6 separate regions of the Homo sapiens genome follow, and all the other regions are linked to region 1. Evidence: promoter capture Hi-C in 16 types of primary human blood cells and fetal thymus (Javierre and others, 2016). All regions are on one chromosome and are shown on one strand. The core of a region is centred on a gene start or on the middle of the fragment in contact, and the rest is flanking DNA. Distances in the headings are between cores, read along the strand shown. Region 1 holds the start of BOD1 (biorientation of chromosomes in cell division 1). Region 2 holds the start of C5orf47 (chromosome 5 open reading frame 47). Region 3 overlaps CPEB4 (cytoplasmic polyadenylation element binding protein 4). Region 4 overlaps CPEB4 (cytoplasmic polyadenylation element binding protein 4). Region 5 overlaps CPEB4 (cytoplasmic polyadenylation element binding protein 4). Region 6 overlaps CPEB4 (cytoplasmic polyadenylation element binding protein 4).

Evidence for each region. The method cuts DNA at HindIII sites, captures the fragments that hold promoters and counts their contacts. A CHiCAGO score of 5 or more calls a contact.
Region 2: a fragment that was not itself captured here is called in contact with the fragment with the promoter of BOD1 in region 1 in 17 of 17 cell types (activated CD4 T cells, naive CD8 T cells, neutrophils and 14 more); the score reaches 18.4 in activated CD4 T cells.
Region 3: a contact is called between a fragment that was not itself captured here and the fragment with the promoter of BOD1 in region 1, in 17 of 17 cell types (neutrophils, monocytes, non-activated CD4 T cells and 14 more). The highest score is 37.6, in neutrophils.
Region 4: a fragment that was not itself captured here is called in contact with the fragment with the promoter of BOD1 in region 1 in 17 of 17 cell types (total B cells, naive B cells, neutrophils and 14 more); the score reaches 20.3 in total B cells.
Region 5: a fragment that was not itself captured here is called in contact with the fragment with the promoter of BOD1 in region 1 in 17 of 17 cell types (naive CD8 T cells, total CD8 T cells, activated CD4 T cells and 14 more); the score reaches 53.8 in naive CD8 T cells.
Region 6: a contact is called between a fragment that was not itself captured here and the fragment with the promoter of BOD1 in region 1, in 16 of 17 cell types (total B cells, neutrophils, naive B cells and 13 more). The highest score is 14.1, in total B cells.

What each region holds. Positions count from the first base shown.
Region 1 is chr5:173,615,137-173,618,577 of GRCh38, forward strand. It overlaps BOD1 (biorientation of chromosomes in cell division 1), which reads right to left and starts at 1,514. Exons shown (of 4, transcript NM_138369.3): 1 at 1,064-1,514. The coding sequence starts at 1,300. RefSeq lists silencers at 1,321-1,370, 1,381-1,450 and enhancers at 1,431-1,690, 1,711-1,790. The HindIII fragment of the contact is 8,451 bases long and covers 1-3,441 here.
Region 2 is chr5:173,987,446-173,990,886 of GRCh38, forward strand. It overlaps C5orf47 (chromosome 5 open reading frame 47), which reads left to right and starts at 1,725. Exons shown (of 5, transcript NM_001144954.2): 1 at 1,725-2,143. The coding sequence starts at 1,819. The HindIII fragment of the contact is 5,296 bases long and covers 1-3,441 here.
Region 3 is chr5:173,961,135-173,964,575 of GRCh38, forward strand. It overlaps CPEB4 (cytoplasmic polyadenylation element binding protein 4), which reads left to right. Exons shown (of 10, transcript NM_030627.4): 10 at 1-846. Among named protein-coding and RNA genes, the nearest start is that of C5orf47, 26 kb to the right of the region's middle. RefSeq lists enhancers at 2,303-3,441, 2,397-3,279. The HindIII fragment of the contact is 861 bases long and covers 1,402-2,262 here.
Region 4 is chr5:173,936,452-173,939,892 of GRCh38, forward strand. The region is part of intron 3 of CPEB4 (cytoplasmic polyadenylation element binding protein 4); the gene reads left to right. Among named protein-coding and RNA genes, the nearest start is that of CPEB4, 50 kb to the left of the region's middle. The HindIII fragment of the contact is 5,398 bases long and covers 1-3,441 here.
Region 5 is chr5:173,920,605-173,924,045 of GRCh38, forward strand. The region is part of intron 2 of CPEB4 (cytoplasmic polyadenylation element binding protein 4); the gene reads left to right. Among named protein-coding and RNA genes, the nearest start is that of CPEB4, 34 kb to the left of the region's middle. The HindIII fragment of the contact is 6,186 bases long and covers 1-3,441 here.
Region 6 is chr5:173,898,827-173,902,267 of GRCh38, forward strand. The region is part of intron 1 of CPEB4 (cytoplasmic polyadenylation element binding protein 4); the gene reads left to right. Among named protein-coding and RNA genes, the nearest start is that of CPEB4, 12 kb to the left of the region's middle. RefSeq lists a silencer at 2,900-3,194. The HindIII fragment of the contact is 888 bases long and covers 1,267-2,154 here.

The DNA of each region.
Region 1 (3,441 bases), core at 264-2,763:
CAGACTTCTAGTTGGGCTTTTCATCTTGGAGAAGGAACAGTGTATACCACTTTCTCTCTCTACATCCGTATTTACCACCTGGTTTATTTACATGTCAGTTTTCTAACCTAGACTATAAGTTTTGAGGATGGGGTAGTGACTTATTCCTGTAATCGCACAGCTTGGCAACTAGAGGCCAATAAACGTTCAACGAATAAACAGACTACGTTTTTCCCTATCTTAAGGTCTAATTCTAAGCTCACAATCTTGCTGTGAGGTAAGCAAAATGTTTCCATGACAGGCTCTGGTAGGAGAAATCACTACCCTGCAGGAGTCCAGTGACAGGGTCTCCTAACCTACAACCACAGTCGTGGCTAGACAAGTTTTGAAAAGGAAGAAAATGAACATTCCAGCAACTACTGTATGTCTGATACTTAACACCCATTATTTCATTGAATCCAAACCACCCTGACGAGTAGGTAAAGTGAAATAGCGTTTTACTGGTGGGACTGACCAATGGCATTAGGATCTCAACTAGGCACCAAATCTCCTTTTATCAATGATGAAGTGCAAAATAAGGGTGCTGTTTCTACAATTTATCTTAATTCAACGCCGTACTAGTCTGCAAAACAATGAGCTAGAGAAAAGGAATAAACAGCTATAAAATGGTGATGACTGTGTGTTCAAATCATTGTGTTTAATGCCAGCTTCTCAGTGGTGAGTACGGAACAGGTGGAAATTCTAAAGCACGCTTGCTTATCTACTTGGTTTCGAAGTTTGTTATTAAGGGCCTCAGAGGAGTTCCATCTTGGGAATGATACGGTCTAGGCTCTAAAACCCACATTGAAACCCCAAGTTCGGAGAAGGGACTGGGTAAAATCACAACTAGTAGTAAATGTATCAGGCAGGAACCCACGTGTGCATCGCTCAGAAAGCTCTCCGTACTGCCCCAAGCGGTGTAAGACCTCACCGCTGAGATTTCTAAGCTATCTTTTGTTTTGCTCTCGGCTTTCGAAAATCAAAGCTGCCACCCGGCGGCCTCACGTGCAGCCCCGCTCCCCAACGCCCAGGCGGCCGCAGCTACCTTGGTGTCCACGTCGGCCAGGCAGTCCCGGCGGAAGCTGTCAAAAAGGCCCCGGCTCTTGAGCTGCTCCACGATGAGAGCGATGAGCTGCGGGTCGCCGGGAGGCAGCGAGGCCGGGTTGATGGGGCCACCGCCCCCGCTGGCCCCAGTAGCGCCAGTCGCTGCCCCGGCAGAGGCCTGGCTAGTTCCGCCGCCGCCCACCGCGCCAGTTCCCCCGCCGCCGCCGCCGTCCGCCATGGCTGCGCCCCGGGCCCACAAGGGAGAACGACTATAGCTTCTTCTCCAGGACAGAAGGCCTAGAACGTGTAGAGGTGGTGAAGGGGGCGGTGAAGGAGGAGGGCCCCAAGGCGGCAGCGGCGGAGGTGGCGATGGCGGCAGGGGCGGTGGTGGGGGCGGCGGCGGCGAAGGCCCCCTCTGATACAGCAGAGGTTGTGGTGGACGCGGCAGAAACGGCCTGCTCGATTCCAGGCGCACCCCAGATGGCGTCAACGTTGACCTTTGCATTGTGGGGCGGGAAGTTTTCTGTGGCCATCTCCGGCGTTCTTTATAGGCAGCGGCCTAGCCGAGAGAAACTACAACTCCCGGCAGGGTTCGTGCTTGCTCGTCGCGATTTCGCGGGGTAATATGGGAACTGTAGGCGCAGGCCTCGTGATCGCTGCAACCCGCCAGGCCTTCCCCGCCAGGCCTTCCCCGCCCACTCTCTGCTCACTTCCCATTCAATCAACACGTCCCAGCAGTGCCCGATTATAACAGTCATCTGTGGAGCTGATTAAAAGTATAGATTACCAGAATTATTTCTTAAAGATTTTTATCCAGTATTTACGGGTCGAGACCTAGCAATCTGTGCTTCAGCATGCACTCCCACGTCCTTCTTGAACAACATGTTCCGGGAAATTCCGGAAACAGTGGAACAGTCAAACTTCTATTGTTCAGAAATTTGTGAGTTTCCCTCCTTTTGGTTTTAATAGCAATGCATACTCATTTTAGAAAATTGGAAAATAACGGAAAAGTGTGAAGAAGAAAATAAAAGTTTTCCTTAAGTCTGTCTTATATGTGTGTGGATTTCCTCCCAAATATTAAATATTGTCAATCATAAGCCAATATTGAATAATTGAAAAGTGTCAGGCGTGATGCTATGCACTTTCCACGCACTTCTTCACGATAATTTAAAAAAGCAGATACATACTACTATTATTGCTATTTACAGACGTAGAAATGGAGGCAGAAGAAAGTTTGTTAACCTAATCACATACCTAGAGGTAGAAAAGTAGGATTTGAACCCAGGTTTTGAGGATCTAAATCTTGCATTTTAGCCTGAGGTATCCTGAGAGCTAGTTGGTATCCCACAATAGGTAAGGCTTTATATCCTGATTTTTTTAAGTAGCCACAATTCACCATTGGAATCCTATAGCTGCCACCATTATCCTCTCTTCCCTTCATCTTTTGCCTATTGTTAGCTCAGCTCCCCCTCCCAACCTCAGCAATTATGTCTGCTATTGTTGTTTCCTCATCTTACACAAGCAGCAGAGGGGATGTAAATAGCAAATTCTGCAATATCCTTGGCTCCTGCGAAGATGCAGAATTGGCAAAGATCCAGGATGTTCTCCACACCAATATTTAGTACTCAAGACAGTTTAATTTTTTTTTCTTTTTTTTTTTTGAGACAGAGTCTCACTCTATCGCCCAGGCTGGAGTGCAGTGGTGCAATCTTGGCTCACTGCAGCCTCCACCTCCTGGGTTCAAGCAATTCTCCTGCCTCAGCCTCCCGAGTAGCTGGGATTACAGGCGCATGCCACCATACCTGGCTAATTTTAGTATTTTTAGTAGAGATGGGGGTTTCACCATGTTGGCCAGGCTGGTCTTGAATTCCTGACCTCAAGTGATCTACCCGCCTCAGCCTCCCAAAGTGCTGGGATTACAGGTGTGAGCCACCACACCTGTCCAAGAGAGTTTAAATTAACCCTCAAAAGAAACATTCAGGTGTTGGATTATACTCATCCTCTAACACCAGCTCAATCATTCACAATGGGTCAGTTAATGACAAACATTCTCTCTTAATAGCTCACCATCCTTGAGATTACCTAATGTCTGTTCCTACTGGTTGACTCTACACTGATCACTCACCTTTAACCCCAGGAGAAGCCCAGTTCAGGCTGCCTCAGCCCCAGGTTCTTTCTTCTGCAAGCCCTTGATCACTCTGACTAGTCCCTTCTCCATTTTTGGCACCCCACATCTTACTCTCCTTCCTCAGGGAAAATTCTTCTGACCCCTAGATCCAATGAGATATTTCCTCCATGCTACAGAAACTCAAAGCCTCATTTTTTGTAGCAATTATTATAATTGGAAGTGAATGATTTACAGACAAATTGGCCACCTGA
Region 2 (3,441 bases), core at 552-3,051, 370 kb after region 1:
CCATAAAATGCTACATGAATTTAAAGAGATGGTCGGGTTGGGCGCAGTGGCTCACGCCTCTAATCTCAGCATTTTGGGAGGCCAAGGCTGGCAGATTGCTTGAGCCCAGGAGGTCAAGACCAGCTTGACCAACATAGCAAAACCTTCTTTCTACTAAAAATGCAAAAATTAGCCAGGCCAAAAATTAGCTGGGCGTGGTGGTGCACGCCTGCAGTCTCCGGAGGTTGAGGCAAGCGAATCGCTTAAACCTGGGAGGCAGAAATTGCAGTCAGCTGAGATTGCATCACTGGACTCCAGCCCTGGAGAAAGAGCAAGACTGACAAAAGAAAAAAAAAAAAGGGTTAGTGGAAACCTATTTGTAAAGTTTCAATGTAAAGAAATTACAATGTGCACCTCACAGTTTACGTCCTGAATGGATAACTATCTCTCACTGTGTGCCAGATGCTGAATATATGCCTTATTTTGATTTATCCTCACAACTCAGTTCTCCTGAGTTAACATTTGAAGACAATGGAGGCTCAGAGAAGGAAAGGGGCTGGGTGTGGTGGCTCACGCCTGTAATCCCAGCACTTTGGGAGGCTGGCGGATCACCTGAGGTTAGGAATTCAAGACCAGCCTGGCCAACATGGTGAAACCTGGCCTCTACTAAAAATACAAAAATAAGCGGGGTGTGGTGGCACATCCTCGTAATCCCAGCTACTCAGGAGGCTGAGGCAGGAGAATCGCTTGAATCTGGGTCGTGGAGGTTACAGTGAGCCGAGATCGCACCATTGCACTCCAGCCTGAGTGACAGAGCGAGACTCCGTCTCAAAAAAAAGAAAGAAAAAGAGAGAGAGAGGGAAAAGGGCTTGCCCAAATAACCCAGCTGGCCAGTGCCTAACCAGCTTGGGCCTCAGACCCCTGTCCCCCTACCCCTGTGTCTCTTGGGGATCACAGCTCCATCACTACCACCTGCCAGGCCAAGGGCATACTGGAACCTTCCGGCAGCCAAGGGCTCTGTGTTCTCCCCCAGGCTCCCAGCGTCACGTGGCTGATGCTCCAGGCTGCTCAAGTCCCGTGTGGGTTCCTCACTCTGAAATCCTCCCGCACCCAAGCATGGGGGCGTCTCCCTAGTAGTGACCTGGTCCCTTTCTCCCACCCTCTTCTTGGAGTAGCTCATTTCTTCTGAGGGGTCTGCACCTCGTCATCGTCCCCAACCCAACACCCGCCCTCTTCCCACTTCCCTCCATCTCCCCTGGGCCTCTCACCTCCCAGCAGCGTGCCCTTCCCCTACTCCTGCAGCCCACGCAGTGACCGGCTGCCTCGCTCCTCAAGCCCAGCTTTCTCCCTCCAGCCCCCCAGCAGTGGTCTGGCCCTAACTTCCCTGCCCCACCCTGCATGGTGGTCCCCGCCACCCCCACGTGGTGATCCGGCCTTAACCCCGTCACCCCATCCCTACTGGGTGGTCCTGCCCTAACCCCACCACCCCCATCCCTGCGAGGTGGTCCGGCCGTAACCCCCTCCCCCCATCCCCACGCGGTGGTCTGGCCCTAACCCTGTCACCGCATCCCTAGGGGGGTGGTCCGGCCCTAAACCCGTCCCCCTCATCGCGGTGCCATGGTCCGGCCCTAACCCTTTGTCCCCCCCATCCCCACAGGGTGGTCTGGTCCTAACCCCCCCCAATCCTCACGCGGTGGTCTGGCCCTAACTCCCTCCCCCCAATCCCCGCAGGGTGGTCTGGCCCTAACCGCTCCCGCATCCCTCGCCTGCACAGTGGGCAGTCTGGCGCCTGTGGCGTCGTGTTTGCTGAGGGCCCGGCTGCCGTTGACTGAGGCTGCGATGGCGGCGGCAGGCCGGGGTCGGGAGCAGGACTCGGCGCGCTTCGTCTATGTGACGCGCTTCGGCTCGCATCAGTGCAGTGGCGTCCTGCAACTGGGCGGCCGTGGAGCTCAAGGCCTTTGGGGTCAGGGGCCTGGGGCAGGCTGTCGCCAGGAGAAGCCGAGGGAAGCAATGGCGGTGGCGGGCGTTCAGGGTGGCAGCGAGCTGCCCCTCGGTTCCCAGCTCAGGGTCCCCACGACCCCTGGTGTGGAGGCTGCGGCCTCTGCCTCCTCCCAGCTGCGGGCATCGAGAGTTCAGAGCGGCACCAGACAGTCGGCGCGTGCAGGTGGTGCAGCGGGGCAGGGCGGGACCGGGCGCGGCGGGGCGGGACGGGGCGGAGCGGGCTCAGCTGCTGGGCGCCATCTTGCGGCACGCAGGAGGCTGGGGGCAGCTTTCCTGTCAGGCCGTGTTGCGAGCACGCGCAGGGGCGAAGGAGAAGCCCAGTAATTCCCTTCAGAGGGCCAGCTGTGGCCGGCACGGGCACCTGACATAAGAGGAGAGGTTGTTGAATGGAGCCTTTACGGCCCCCTCACGGAGGCTTTTGGCCTGCGTGTTTCCGTTCCAGCTGAGTGAGATTCGTTGACTTCGCAAACCCCCTCACCTGGAGGATTGACTTCCGGATGCTGTTGAGTCATCCTGGCTAAAAACAGCATGAGCTTTACGTTTAAATCAGGAAATGTCTTCAATTCAAAAATTATCCTCCCATAGGTTTTGCATATGTCTTGATCAACTTATTCCTAAATATTTAATCTTCTTTGCTGTTGTAAATGGGGTTTCTTTTTACGAAATGCCCTCTAAATGCTCACTGTGTATAGGAAGCCAATTTTTTTTTTTTTTTTTTGAGACGGGGTATTGCTGTGTCACTCAGGCTGGAGTGTGGTGGTCCAATCACAGGCTCACTGCAGCCTTGACCGCAGCCTTGACCTCAGCCTCCCGAGTAGCTGGGACCACAGGTGGGCACCTCCATGCCCAGCTACTTTTTTTATCTTTTGTAGACATGGGGGGCGGGGGGGTCTCCCTGTGTTACCCAGGCTGGTCTCGAACTCCTGGGCCCAACTGATCCTCCTGCCTCAGCCTCACAGCCCTGGGATTACATGCATGAGCCACTGGGCCAAGCCTTTCTTGGTTTTTCTTTTTCTTTCTTTTTTTTGAGATGGAGTCTTGCCCTGTTGCCCAGACTAGAGTGCAATGACGTGATCTTGGGTCACTGCAACCTACGCTCCCCTGGTTCAAGCGATTCTCCTGCCTCAGCCTCCCAGGTAGCTGAGATTACAGGCACCTGCCACCAATGCCCAGCTAATTTTTTTCTATTTTTAGTAGGGATGGGGTTTCACCATGTTGACCAGGTTGATCTCGAAATCTTGACCTCAGGTGATCCACCCGCCTCAGCCTCCCAAAGTGTTGGGATTACAGGCGTGAGCCACCGCGCCAGGCCCTCTCTTGGTTTTTCTAAGTCAGCTTTACTGAGGATTAATTTACGTATGTTTCGAAGAGGTTTGACAGATTTATACACACCCTAGTAACTGCCACCATAATTAAGATATAGAACATTTCCATCACTTGTACTTACGGAATAACAGCTTT
Region 3 (3,441 bases), core at 582-3,081, 350 kb after region 1:
GAGATTACTGAGGGTAAGGGCAGGCTGGACAGCTTCCCCTTTCTCTCATCTGGCAATTCCCAAACCTTACGTTGAGCATTCAATGAAGGGCCTTGAGGAAACCCCAGGGATGGGACACTGGAGATGTGGGTGGCATTTGGTTATCAAGTCTATAATATTCCTAGGCATTCTGGGATGGTTTCACTATTTTAAGAAAAGAAAAAAAAGATAGCCCAAGCATATTTAGTTTATTTTAGGAAATGTTTATTTCAGGTAAGTGAGATATCAATGATATGTGATATAACAACTCTATCTTGAAATTACATAGGTGCATTGCTTTGGGTGTTTTAAATCACAGAATGGTGTGTCTGGAAAGGGTGTAAGAGGCTTCCTGGGCTATATTTCTTCATTCACTGATTGCCTAAACCTACCCAACGAGGAAAATTCTTTTTATTTTTATCTTTTGTTTTTACTGTCTAACCAGATGAATAAACAGTGGAAATTCTCTACCACACTCTTAACAATCAAGTCATTTCATAACCCCTTTTGGTAATGGGTGTTTGTGTCCACAGCTAGATCAGAAAGTAAGTACTTTTTCTAGGGATTTTTTTTTTTTTTTAAGTTTGGGAAATAGTTTGATCAAAAGTCATGGGGAAAGTAATCTCTGATTTTAAAAATTGAAGAATACTGAAGGTGTCAGTGAGTTAGAAATTTTTAAGGAGTAATTATTTTCTGAAATGTGTAATAACCGAATAATAAACAAGACAAAACTCTAATATTTCAGACTGTGATCTTCAGAGGACTAGGATAGTCCTTTCCACAAGAAAAAGACAAAAAAAAATAAAGTTTTACCATTAAATACACTTAGAAAATGGGTCACCTTGTTTCTTGCAAAGTCAAAATAATGCACATTTGCACATTAGCTTATTAAGACTTCAAGAAATTCTACAATGAAGAAATCTTTTTTATTTTATTTTATTTTATTTTATTTTATTTATTTATTTTTTTGAGATGGAGTTTTGCTCTTGTTGCCCAGGCTGGAGTGAGTGCAATGGTGTGCTCTCAGCTCACTGCAACCCCTGCCTCCCGTGTTCAAGCCATTCTCCTACCTCAGCCTCCAAAGTAGCTGGGATTACAGGCATGCACCACCATGCCCAACTAATTTTGTATTTTTAGTAGAGATGGGGTTTCTCCATGTTGGTCAGGCTGGTCTCGAACTCCTGACCTCAGGTGATCCGCCCGCCTTGGCCTCCCAAAGTGCTGGGATTACAGGCGTGAGCCACCGTGCCCAGCCAGAAACCTATTTACTTTGTTGAAAGTGTCCCTCTCACTCCAATTTCTCTGACTACAGATTCTGTTTACAGGTAACACATGGAACATACTTTGGGCTATACCACTGTAACATTTTAGTATGTTTCAAGAAGCTTTGAAACCCCACTTTGTTTTTTGGCATCCATACATGTGTTCTGGAAGGGTGCTTGGCCCTGCCACTTGTGAGCCACTTTCAGAGCTGCTTTCATTGCCCACACCTACTTTACTGGAGTTCTAGGTACTTACGTAGCTTCTAAGCCCTGTCCTAGTTCCAGTGCATCCTCCTAATTCGTCTTCCCTCTACTACCATCCCAGAAGAAAGAAAAAGAGAAGTTACTTTGCACAATAAAGCTATTTTGATTATGCTTTTCACTGTCTCAGACCAGCCCTTGTTTCTCATGAGTGCCTCAAATGCCACTTGAGACAAGCAGCTAGTGCTTTGAATCTGCCATTCTATGATATGCTGTCTCCCTTTCTCATCATTCCTATATCCTCCTTCAAAATTTTCTTTTGCAAACTTCCCTCAGCACCCCTCACCCGCTGATTCTCTTGAGAATAGGCGCCACTGGCTTTGAATAAATTCTAAGAATTTAGAAAATGAACATTTGCGCCCCACTAGGAACTCTTACCTAGCAATACCAATTCAGTCGTCCTCATTAGAGAACATTTTATTTTGCCGTGCCTTGAGTCTTCTCAGGATATTTTGGGTTATCATCTTTCTCTAGTCAAGCTGGGTGTCATTGTTGGCTGTCTGGAAAAAGTGTCTTATTGTGATTCAGCGTGGTGACCAGAGTTGGAAAAGTACACATTGTCTCAGGGAAGTTAAAAATGAACAGCAGCATCCCAAATCAGAATGTGAGCAAACCTCCAGCCTTTAGTATTGCGTGTAATTTGATTCAGTGTCAGGGAAAAACTGCCTGTGGGTAGCTGGGCTGGAGGTGGTGAATCAGTGCACGCAAATGCCAGCAGCTAAGCTTGAGCTTTCTTTATCCTTTTCATCGGAGTTCTATTTCAGGAAGCCCGGCTTTGATACCCTAAAAATGTCAATGTGATCAAGCAAATGTCACCATTTTAAAGAGATTATTTTCAACTCTTCTCCCACCTCCCTGTGAGACCTAGGAGTGACTCCCCAGAACCCACCAAAGGCAGCAGGGCATTTTAAACTCGTGAAATCAGTTACCCAGGAAGAGAACCGGGAGGGGTGGTGGTAAAATAATTATGTGAAGCTGCAAAGAATGTTTTAGCTAGGATCCAAGAAAGACCTGGCGCTTCCTTATTTGGAGGAATGAAGGTGATACAGGAGCTAAAAGGAAATTATTTAGGCGGTTAGCGAGGGTAAGAGAGTCCTCAGGCTTCCCTTTTAACAAAAAGCAGCCCCCAAATCATTTCTTTTCTAACAAAGAGCAGCCTGTAAAATCGAGCTGCAGACATAAATAAGCAAGCTGGAAGCCTGCATAGGTAAATGCCGGCAGCTGTGCCAACAGGAAAAGGCTAGCTGGGGGCCAGGCATGTTCAACATGGAGGCTCCCTCTTCCTTTTCTTTGTCGCTATGTGTGCAGTAGAAAGGCAGGCAACATGGCGTTGGCCAGGTAGAGACCCCCATCTGCATAATAAAAGATTAGGGTGGGATGGCCAGCTTCTTTGTGCGTGATGCAAGTGTCACGCCTGGTCCGACCAATCTCTCTGGCCCTACGTGAATCAGACACGCCTCCTCAAGCTCATCTATAAAATCCCATGCATTTCATTGTGGAGCCGGAAGTCCCACCCGGGAGCCCCTCTCTCTCCTAAGAGAGAGAGCTATTCTCTTTCTTTTGCTTATTGAACCTCCAGGGTTAAACTCACTTCTTGTATGTCCGCGTTGTTGATTTCCCTGGCACGAGACGACGAACCTCGGGTACTTACCCCAGACCACAACGCCGCTTCAAAGGCACAATTCCCCTTTCATGTTTGAGGGAAAAGTGCTGTGGGTCCTTGAGTGTTTGGTGACAGAAGGTTTGATTCCAACAGCGTGCTGGGTGGGGTAGGGTGGGTGAGGGTGGGGTGGGGTGAGGGTGACGGTGGGGTGGGGTGAGGGTGAGGGTGGGGTGAGGGTGAGGGTTGGGGTGGGGTGGGGTGAGGGTGGGGTGGGGTGAGGGTGGGGTGGGGTGAGGG
Region 4 (3,441 bases), core at 688-3,187, 320 kb after region 1:
CATTCTGAGGTACTGGAGGTTAGGACTTCAACATATGAATTTGGGCAGGAGGGTGGGGGTAGGGGGTGGCCACATAATTCAGCCCATAATAGATGCCTTATACTAGTAAATTTCATGTAGTAGGGATATAGTTAGAATGCCCATTTTATGGTTATGAGAAGCAAGCCTAAAACTTAGTTTCCCAGTTAAGTGAGAAGAAGTGTTAAACATAGGCTAGTTACCTCAAATTCCTCTGGAGTATCTTGGCTTAGCTCTGAGATAGACATTGGATTAAAAGATTAGTTTTCCTCTTACCCAGCTTGAAACTTTATTTTACCTAAGAAACCACCACCACCTCTGTATAAAAATGCTTGTGCATTATACTTTTTTTTTTTTTTTCTCTAACCTTTCATTCTCCTGCTTTAGCCCTCAGGATTAGCTACTTCAAAAATGAACCTTGTGGCAGGAGAAAGTTATAGAGCAAAAAAAACGTGTTAAGTTTTAACAACTCATATATGTATTTTCTTTCCTTTGAGGAAGTGATTAGTAAGAGATCTATTAAGGGTAGCACAGAACAACATTTCTTTCCTTTTTTTTTTTTTTTTTTTTTTGAGATGAAGTCTGTTCTGGACTGATCCAGACTCCAGTCTGATCCAGGCTGGAGTGCAGTGGCTCCATCTCGGCTCACTGTAGCCTCCATCTCCCAGGTTCAAGCAATTGTCCTGCCTCACCCTCCCAAGTAGCTGAGATTACAGGCACCTGCCACCATGCCCAGCTAATTTTTGTATTCTTAGTAGAGATGGGGTTTTACAATGTTGGCCAGGCTGGTCTCGAACTCCTGATCTCAAGTGATCGGCCTGCCTCGGCCTTCCAAAGTGCTGGGATTACAGGTGTGAGTCACCTCACCCGGCCCAACATCTCTTAATTATAGTTTTTTGGAATGAAAAGAGGAAGATTGTTTGCTTGGGAGGGGGAAGAAATCTATCAAAAAGGAAGGTGTAATTTACTCAAGAGAAATGTAGATGATGATCACTTACTGAAAATGTGTGTAATATGGTTCTAGTTGCTACAATAATAAGCATGTTGAAAGATCCCTTCATTGAAAAGATAATATGAAAACAAACTGTAAACTCTAAAGTGCTCTACAATTGTTAACCTTAAAATGCTAATGAAAAGCTGAGAATAATTGTTGAAGATCATACTCAGAATATATGCATATGAATTTACTTTTGGGAAAGGGAGATTATTTATTGAGTATGTGACTGACCATTACATATACACATTGTGTTTTTCATTATTCTCTCATTTGCTTCCCATTTTTATAAATAAAGAAACTGAGGGTTAGGGACATAAGGAAACTAGAGTTGCATTCTCTGCTCTTTTCTAAGGTAGGCCTTACAAATAATAGTGTCTTTATCATATCTTAGGAACATTCTTTGAATGTTGTTGTACCAACAAGCTAATATAAGCATAAGCCAATGTGATAGGAATTTCTAACTATAAAGCAAATGTAAATTAATTTTGTGGCAGTGAGCCTATTAAATTAGGGATTAATTTATAAAATCATTTAAAATGGTTCTTTGCATCTTTGTTGAATCGTATGCTTTGGTCTTTGTGATGATTGTGTCTGCTTTTTGGTTCTACCATCTTTATTCTTTTGTTCACAGATTAATTCCTTTTAGCTTCAAGCCTTTGATTTATATCTTTTCAACTGATTTACTAATTTGGCTAATTTCTACACTCCTCTCCCCATATATTTTCTTTTAGTCCTCCTGGAAAAGTCAGGTTGTTTTGTTTTGTTTTGTACTGTTTTGAGACGGAATCTCGCTCTGTTGCCCAGGCTGGAGTGCGGTGGTGCAATCTCAGCTCACTGCAATCTTTACCTCCCGGGTTGAAGCAATTCTCCTGCCTTAGCCTACCAAGTAGCTGCGATTACAGGCATGTGCCACCACACCCAGCTAATTTTTATATTTTTAGTATAGACAGGGTTTTACCATATTGGCCAGGCTGGTCTCGAACTCCTGACCTCAAATGATCTGCCCACCTCAACCTCCCAAAGTGCTGGGGTTATAGGTGTTAGCCACCATGCCTAGCCAAAAGAAGCCAGTTATCTGATAACATCTTATCATCTGAGCTACACCCCCCTTTTTTTTCCAGATAGAATTGCTATTTGTCTTCTCACCTTGGGGCAGAGAGAGGTGCACAGTTGGAGAGCCTAAGGTAGATCAGCGTAACCCGAATAGGATCCGTTTTTTCATTGTCCACTAAAACATAGTAATATCTTATCCTTCATGGCCTAAAGTCCTATTCGTGACAGAATTGATTAGGTGCTGTCATGTAGGAAAGTATGCTTTTGTATGAAAGTAATAATGTCATTTGTTCATTTTTAATATTAGTACCAAGGAGAAAACCAAAAAGGGTTCATTAACAAATATAGCAATATAGCATATGCAATAATAATAAATTCAAATGGTACAAAAAGGGATAAAACAAGAAGTGAATGCCTTCTTTCCTCTTTCTAGAAGTTTCTCTCTCCAAAGGTTCTTGTGGTTGTTTCTAGAAAAAAGTATTTCATGGCCAGGCGCAATGGCTCATGCTTACAATCCTAGCACTTGGGGAGGCCCAGGTGGATGGATTTCTTGAGCCCAGGAGTTGAGACCAGCCTGGGCAACATGGCAAAACCCCATCTCTATAAAAATAAAAATAAAATAAAAAGTAAAAAGATTTTATGCATAGTCCCACATATCTATTTATATTTTCTTTATTTTTAAATGTACACAATAAGGATTCTACAATACACACTTAGACACTGCATGCAGGCCAGCATCTTAGAGAGCTTTAGGTACATGAACGTGAGCCACATTTAAAAATGCCACATGCTCAGTTAATAGGGTTGCTCCTTTGAAATACGTACATACATACATACATACATACATACATACAAATGCCACCTACTAGGTGTTTCTTCTTTTGAATGTGTGGGTACTTTGTTTCTTTTTGATTATTACAAATGTTGCAACAAATGAGAAAAAAGTACTTTTTATGGGATAAATAATATTTTATTTTTATAATAAAATGTATGGGGAGGGAGAAAGTCAGGGGAGCCCTGACAAGTCTTTCTGTACCTTCTTCGTAAGTCTGGCATTACAGATTAATGGAACATTTTGCTAGAGGGAATTTGATTCTGCATATAGGGCTAATAACAAGGAAAGGAAGCATTTGTAAGCAATCCTGTAAAGACGTTTTAGAAATAAAGTATATCAATAGATCTAATAGCAGGTATCCAGAAGTTATAAAAATTTATGGCCATAATATTTTGAGCCTTTTTTTTTTTTTAACAATCTTGAATCCTGTTAGTTCTGAACATTAAATTATTGAGGACTTTATAAATCAAAACTAGGCTGGACACGGTGGCTCACGCCTGTAATCCTAGCACTTTGGGAGGCTGAAGTGGGCAGATTG
Region 5 (3,441 bases), core at 503-3,002, 310 kb after region 1:
GTAGTGCCTTAGATTGGTCACTTCTCTCTAGACCTCAATTTCCTCACCTGTAAACGGAGGGGTTGAACTTAATGATCTTTACATTACCATCAGCAATTCAGTCTTACATTACAAAACTGGAGGTACAGTTTTATATTTTAAAACTGAAGGTTTTTATGGTGTAATGACTGAAAGTAGCCCATGAATATCATGTGATTCTGGGTGTGGCAGTATTTCATATGGAGTAGTTTGTATAAGGGCTATAATCAGAGATCAGATTTAGTCGGTTGAGTGAAGGCTTTGGGTCTAAACTACATCTTTTCTTTTTGAGATAGGCCTAAAAATATTATGTTTAGAAAACAGTTGTTTAAACTTGGCCTCGTGAAATGTTTTTGTTCTCCATTTGTGAACCATGGGCCTCTTCAGCCATGGGAATTATTTGATAGAGCCTGTGAACCCATTAGTGACCAGGCATTCCAGTTAGATGATAGATGTCACTTGTGTATGCATGATTATCTTCCAAAAGCATGTGGATGCTGATGTAATGCAATTAAAATACATTTAAAGGTGTTGCTGAGTTCATAGTAGCCTTCTGATATTAAGATTTTTTTTTGTTTTTGTTCTGTTTTACTTAGGGTAGAGACAGGGGTAGGAGTCTTCAGTTATTATTATGGAGGAAAGCCTCTCTGAAATATTTTGATCAAAGTAGGTCTTAATAGTTATTACAACAGATTATGAAATACTGCTCTAGAGAACTTCCCTAATTTTTCTGCTTTATACTCTTGCCATTAGAATGCTCCTTGTTACAAAAAAGAACATAACATAAAAAAGGAATTTAACAGAGGAAATGGTGAGGAGGAGGACAGGGAGGAGTGAGGAGGCTACTGACGCTCTCCTAAATTGTCCTCTCCACCAAGTAGCATTTTGGAGCTTCCTGACATCTGAAGCCATCTTTATTCCTTTGTAGCAGGGTTAAGAATATGGGCTGCTGAGGCTACATCCTGCATGATGCCAGGGGGTAGAGGGAGCCATCTGACGAGATGGGTGCACTCCGTGTTGTATAACATGGCAGTTCTTGTTAGGAGGGGGAGGCAAGTGCTACTAAAGCCTCTTTAAGCCACATGGTTTGGAAGTGTCTTATATTTTAGCTTCTGCTTATACTCCACCTCCACAAATATTTGAACATATTCAATGTGCCAGGTAGATTGAAGGATAGTTTTGATGCTGTGCTGCATTTTTCCTTTTCGAGGTAGACCTGGACATTCTGTATGGGAAGCAGCATTAACCAGTTTCAAGTGAAAGGGTGCTTACCTCTGATACCATTTCTCTTTTATTCAGTGCCCCTTCTGAGAATTATTTGTAACCCAGATCCTTACGGTAACCTGTTATGTGAGTTTTGTGGTCTTCATTTTACAGTTGAAAAGAATTGGAGATCCCAAAGATGCAACAGCTTCTGTAAAGTCACTCAGATTCCTGGTACCTACAAGGGTCAATATAGGAGGAACACACAGCTTCTGGCTCCTGGTTCAATGGCCTGAGTATTTATTGTGTAGCCTCTGAGAAGGAAACAAACATAAGAAAATGGAAACATTTTTGTCTAGTATGCTTTGACAGAGGGTAGGCATTCAATTTTTTTTTCTCTTTCTCTTTCTTTCTTTCTTTTTTGAGACAGGGTCTAGCTCTGTTGTCCATCCTGGAGTGCAGTGGCACAATCTTGGCTCACTGCAGCCTCCGCCTCCTGGGCTCAAACGCTCCTCCCACTTCAGCCTCCCAAGTAGCTGGAACTACAGGTGCCTGCCAGTGCACCTGGCTAATTTCTGTATTTTTTGCAGAAATGGGGCTTTGCCATGTTGCCTAGGCTGGTCTCAAACTCCTGGGCTCAAGCAATTCACCTGCCTTGGCCTCCCAAAGTGCTGGGATTACAGACATGAGCCATCATGCCTGGCCAAGATTTCTTAATTTCAATTTAGGAGATGGTACAAAATTTAAAAATCTGTATTTTATCATAATCTATGAAAGATTCACACATCACAGTTGGCTGGTTTCATACTGAAGTGTGCCTTATTGGGAGTGGAAACTTTTCCAAGTTGACTTGTTCTCTTCCCTGATTCTGATTCACCAGATTTGCCATGGGACTTAAGCATGTGCATTCTTCATGTGATTCAGATACACTTCCTTCGCTTCCCACCCCCAACTTTTGCGCTGCTTTGGATGTATATGTAAAGTCCAGAGCTGTCTGAGGCCATTCATACAACAAATATACATCAGGCATCTACTGTGCACCAGGTACTATGGTTGTTGGGATATATCAGGGACTAACTAAAAACAAAGGTTCCTGGCTTCATGCAGCTTATTTTCCAAATAATTACCAGACATCTTTGAATATCCTGTTTATTATTTAATTTAGAAGATTAATAAGAGGAAAAGTAAGAACCCAGAGTATTGATAGGAGAAAATAGGTAGTGGGCCTTCTGAGAAATAACAAAAGGTGAAATTCTTATATCAGATATAAAATGCAAGTCCATTTTTCATTAAGGTTCAGAAAAGTTGTCAGAATTCATGTTAAGTAAGTGACTAGAGTTAATGATAGATAGGTCTGTATGCAGAAAGCCAACTAGTGACTTTGCAGATTGCTTTTTGGGGTTTGGACTTCAGTAAACAGTTTTAATGCAACTTTTTATCAGTGTAGTAGCATTCTATTTTATAAAATAATGGTTATAAATAAGAAACTCAGTCTTAATTCTCTTTAGTTTCTGTAGTCAGAGAAAAGTCTAATTAGATCTCTTGTGGCTTCTCTCTCTTATCTCTAAAGTTCTCAATCATTTACACTGACTTAGCTTGTGGTCCCTAGAGATTTCATAAGTTTATCTTGGTGTTTTTTTATGTTCATGTCAGCACAGAGAGCCATTTGTCAAAATTATTTTCACCTTGGGGCCAGTTCTTTATTCATTGGTTCTTTTAATATATGTCTCTTGTAACACATGCTTCTTTTAAGCAAACTTTTTGCAAGGTAGGAGAATTTTAATTTACTGCCTTGGCTTTTTTTCTGGATTGCTTTAATTTTTTCTACTACTTGGTCTGTTTTTCCACTTTTCTTTCCATTATATTTTTTTCACCTTTTTTTTTCCAACTGACTTTGGCTGGCTTAGCTTGGACAAAAACTACACCTAGTTTTGCCGAGTTTTTTAGAGCTTAAAAAATTGCCATTAATCTCTGGTATCATAACATCCTCTTAAGGCAAGTTATCTTGTTGCTCTGTCCTCTAAATGTAGCATCTAGAGTCAGAAGGCTTCTGGCAAGGATAAAAATAGCCTTCCTGCTTGCTGGTTTGTTGTTAGCTTTACTGGCAGTAGGAAATCTTTTGAATTCCTTAATTGGGTCAGCTTCTTACTAGTTTCTCTCTGGACATTCCCTTCTGCCTGAAATTCTTAGATGCTTTTAGATCTTGCAGCTTCGCACCTG
Region 6 (3,441 bases), core at 461-2,960, 280 kb after region 1:
CCACCAGGCCCATCTAATTTTTGTACCTTTTAGTTCACCATGTTGGCCAGGCTGGTCTCGAACTCTTGACCTCAGGTGATCCGCTCGCTTTGGCCTCCGGAAGTGCTGGGATTATAGGCGTGAGCCACCGCACCTGGCCTGAACTTAATTTTAAATAAATAAAATACAATTCCTAAAGTCACTATACTTAAATAATGGTGGGACTGAGGCTAGATGACACACTGATTTTCTTGAACACTGCTGAAAGTGACCAACTGGTGATATTTTTTTTCTCTCTTGGTAAAGCACCCCCTGACCCATGTCTTCTTAAATTTTTATTATGGAAAAATTTAAATATATTCCATGGTAGACAGAATAGTCTAGTGAACTCCCATGTATGTGTCACCTGGCTTCAACAATTATCAGCTCCTGGACAATCTTGTTTCATCTATACCCTTAATCCTCTCTCTCCCCATTTGTATTATTTTGAAGCAATTGCTTCATATCATATTATTTCATCTGTAAATGGTTCAGTATGTGTCTCTAGAGGAGTCTTTAAGAGAAAACATTAAAATTTTTTTCAAGTTGTTTTTTTAAAGAAGGGTAGTGAGAAACTGAAGCAAGGCCCACATTTCTGTTGTACCTGCTCAGTCTGTTTCACTGCTCAACCTGGTGCCAATAGTGGTGGACCACTGTTGGCTTCATCTTCTCTTTCTGTAACATAGAAAAATAAGAGATCCAGTTAAAGCACCCAAATACCAGCTAGTGATTCGAAATTTGGGAGGAGAGTATACCGTTTTCCTCCCTTCATCTTATCCTTTCTCTAGGTTCACACTTCTGTGGACTTGTGGGCAAGACCTCTGAAAGGAAAGATGAGTGAGAGAACAGGACAGGACTGAGCTTTTATGGTTGCTGTCTTTTTTGTTTTTCTGTTTTTTAAGAGGAATGTAGAGGTTTGGGGTCCCTTGCAGACTTTTAGACTGCATCAACTTTTTACATTTCTTGCTTGCTTTCAGTGCACAAATGTTTGATGCTTTTGAAGGGCCATGGGCTGAGGATGCTTAGCTATGGCAAACGTGATACTTCTGCTCCTGAAGTGCACTGGCCAGTGACCTCCTCTTTGTGCTTGAGTGTTGAGGAGTGCCTTCTGCCCAGGAGATTCTGGAGAACTGTGGATGGGGGTCGGGGGGTGTTGTGAGAGTCTGGAAATGTGGAGGCTGGGCACAAGCTGCCTTTTGAGATCACTGTCAAGGCTCACAGAAGAGATGTCGAGGGTTACAAGACATAAGCTTCAGTTTAGGAATAAAGGTTGTGCATTGGCCAGGTGTGGTGGCTCACGCCTGTAATCCCAGCACTGCGAGAGGCTGAGGTGGGCGGATCACCTGAGGTCGGGAGTTCGAGACCAGCCTGACCAATATGGAGAAACCCCATCTCTACTAAAAATACAAAATTAGCCTGGTGTGGTGGCGGGCGCCTGTAGTCCCAGCTATTCTGGAGGCTGAGGCAGAATAATCACTTGAACCCAGGAGGCAGAGGTTGCAGTGAGCCGAGATCGCGCCATTGCACTCCAGCCTGGACAACAACAGCGGAACTCTGTCTCAAAAAAAAAAAAAGTTGTACATTAGGGTGGACCCCTCTCCCTGCTGACGCCGGACCCTGCTCAGACCTAGCAGACATGGAGAACAGGAACTCTAACAGCCAGTTGAGGTCTAAATAACTTCATTCCTCAAGGCTGAGTGTTAGTATTGTTTACCTGCTTTCCTTGAACTAATGACTTCTTGCCCTGAATAGTTTATTAGGGAGAAGTCTTATACTGATAGTTTTGGGGTCATAGGTTTGAACATATTTTGATTATCTCTATGAAAACAGGTTATAGAAAATAGCACAGAATCACTGACTTATTCAGATACAACCGATATCTAATTTAAAATGTGAGTTTCATGCTTTTTTTCATTGCACCATAGAAGGGGCAGAGAAATGTTTATTGAATGAGTTCACTAACCGCCATGCTTTGTGCTCCTGCTGCCCATATACCTTATCTCACTGGCTTTTCACTACAGATTTATAAGGGAGGTGCTATTATCCTCGTTTTGCTGATGAAATTAAGGTTCAATGATATTGCAGCATCAAGATCACTTGCTTAGTATGTTTGATACTTAGTATCACAAGTATCAAAGCTTGTGATAGATTTTAATTATTTCTCTCTGCTAGGCAAGATTAGTATGAACAAATTGTCAAGAAGAAGAAAAGGTCTATTGATTCAGGAACTGACTGACTAATCAAGCCTAGAATGGTCATTTGGTTTTTTAATACAAATAAGTGATGACAAGAAATGTTTATCATTTTAAGGATTTATAATGCTCAAAATGAATGTGATTTATTTAGTAAAGGTGCAATAAAAAATGTTCTCAGAGGCTTTCTGGAGAGATCTTATTTGTCAATTAACATGGCAACCAAATGGAGCTGTTGATCCAAGGTAATACACTGAAGACATTCATTCATTTAGTTGTAGATCATAATTCTATTAGGGAACATGTGGTAACCTAAGATCTGTTAGACTCTACCTTCATTACAGGAGCTATAATGAAAAAGTACTGATTGAAGAGGGAACTTGCAAAGAAATATGAGATGCTGTTAAATGTGGTCCCTCCTGCTTCAGATAATTACCACTTTAACTTTAATCTCTGATGCTCGTTGTCTTCATTCAGGCCACGTATATATAGTGAAGGATTTCATACCTGGCAGGTAATAATAGAGCAAAAATTCTAGGCCCAAACAAAACTTCACTTAAACCACTTTTCCTGAACATCTGCTCTGAAGTCAGACTCGACCACTTACTGTGTGACTTTGTAGGGCAATTAGTTAACTTCTCCTAGCTTCATTTGCCTACGATGGGGAAAATAAATGACAGTACTGACTTCATATGATGGTTGTGAGGAACTAATATATGTAAATGTTATGTAATTCATGTAAGATGCACAACACAGAGCCAGGAGGAACATGTTAGCCACTTTCTATATCAGTGGCGATGGCTTTACGGCATGCTACAAGCTGTGGATATGAAAATGAGTGAAGCTCATGGCGCATGGTGATAGTATAAGCTCTGTCATACAGAGCTTATCACTATCTTGTGGGATGTCAGAGTGCTAGGGAGACATAAGGGAAAAGGGATTTGCTGCCTGTGTAGGGATGTGAGGGTCATTTGGAAGTGGAATCTTGAAAGTTGACTGGATAGTCCACTCTTGATGATCTGTGAATTTACATATTATTTAATTCAAGAGGAATATTTACATTTTGGCAAATCTTGAATTAAAACTCCCATAGTTACCTTTGATTAATTATGGGCTCTACTGGCATCTCAAAATTTCTATTTATTTTGGCAGCTGACACACTGGCGTACACTTTCCTTTCAAACCAAAATATTTTCCCTTCCCTTCTTTACCAGGGAAAGTTTAAGCCAGA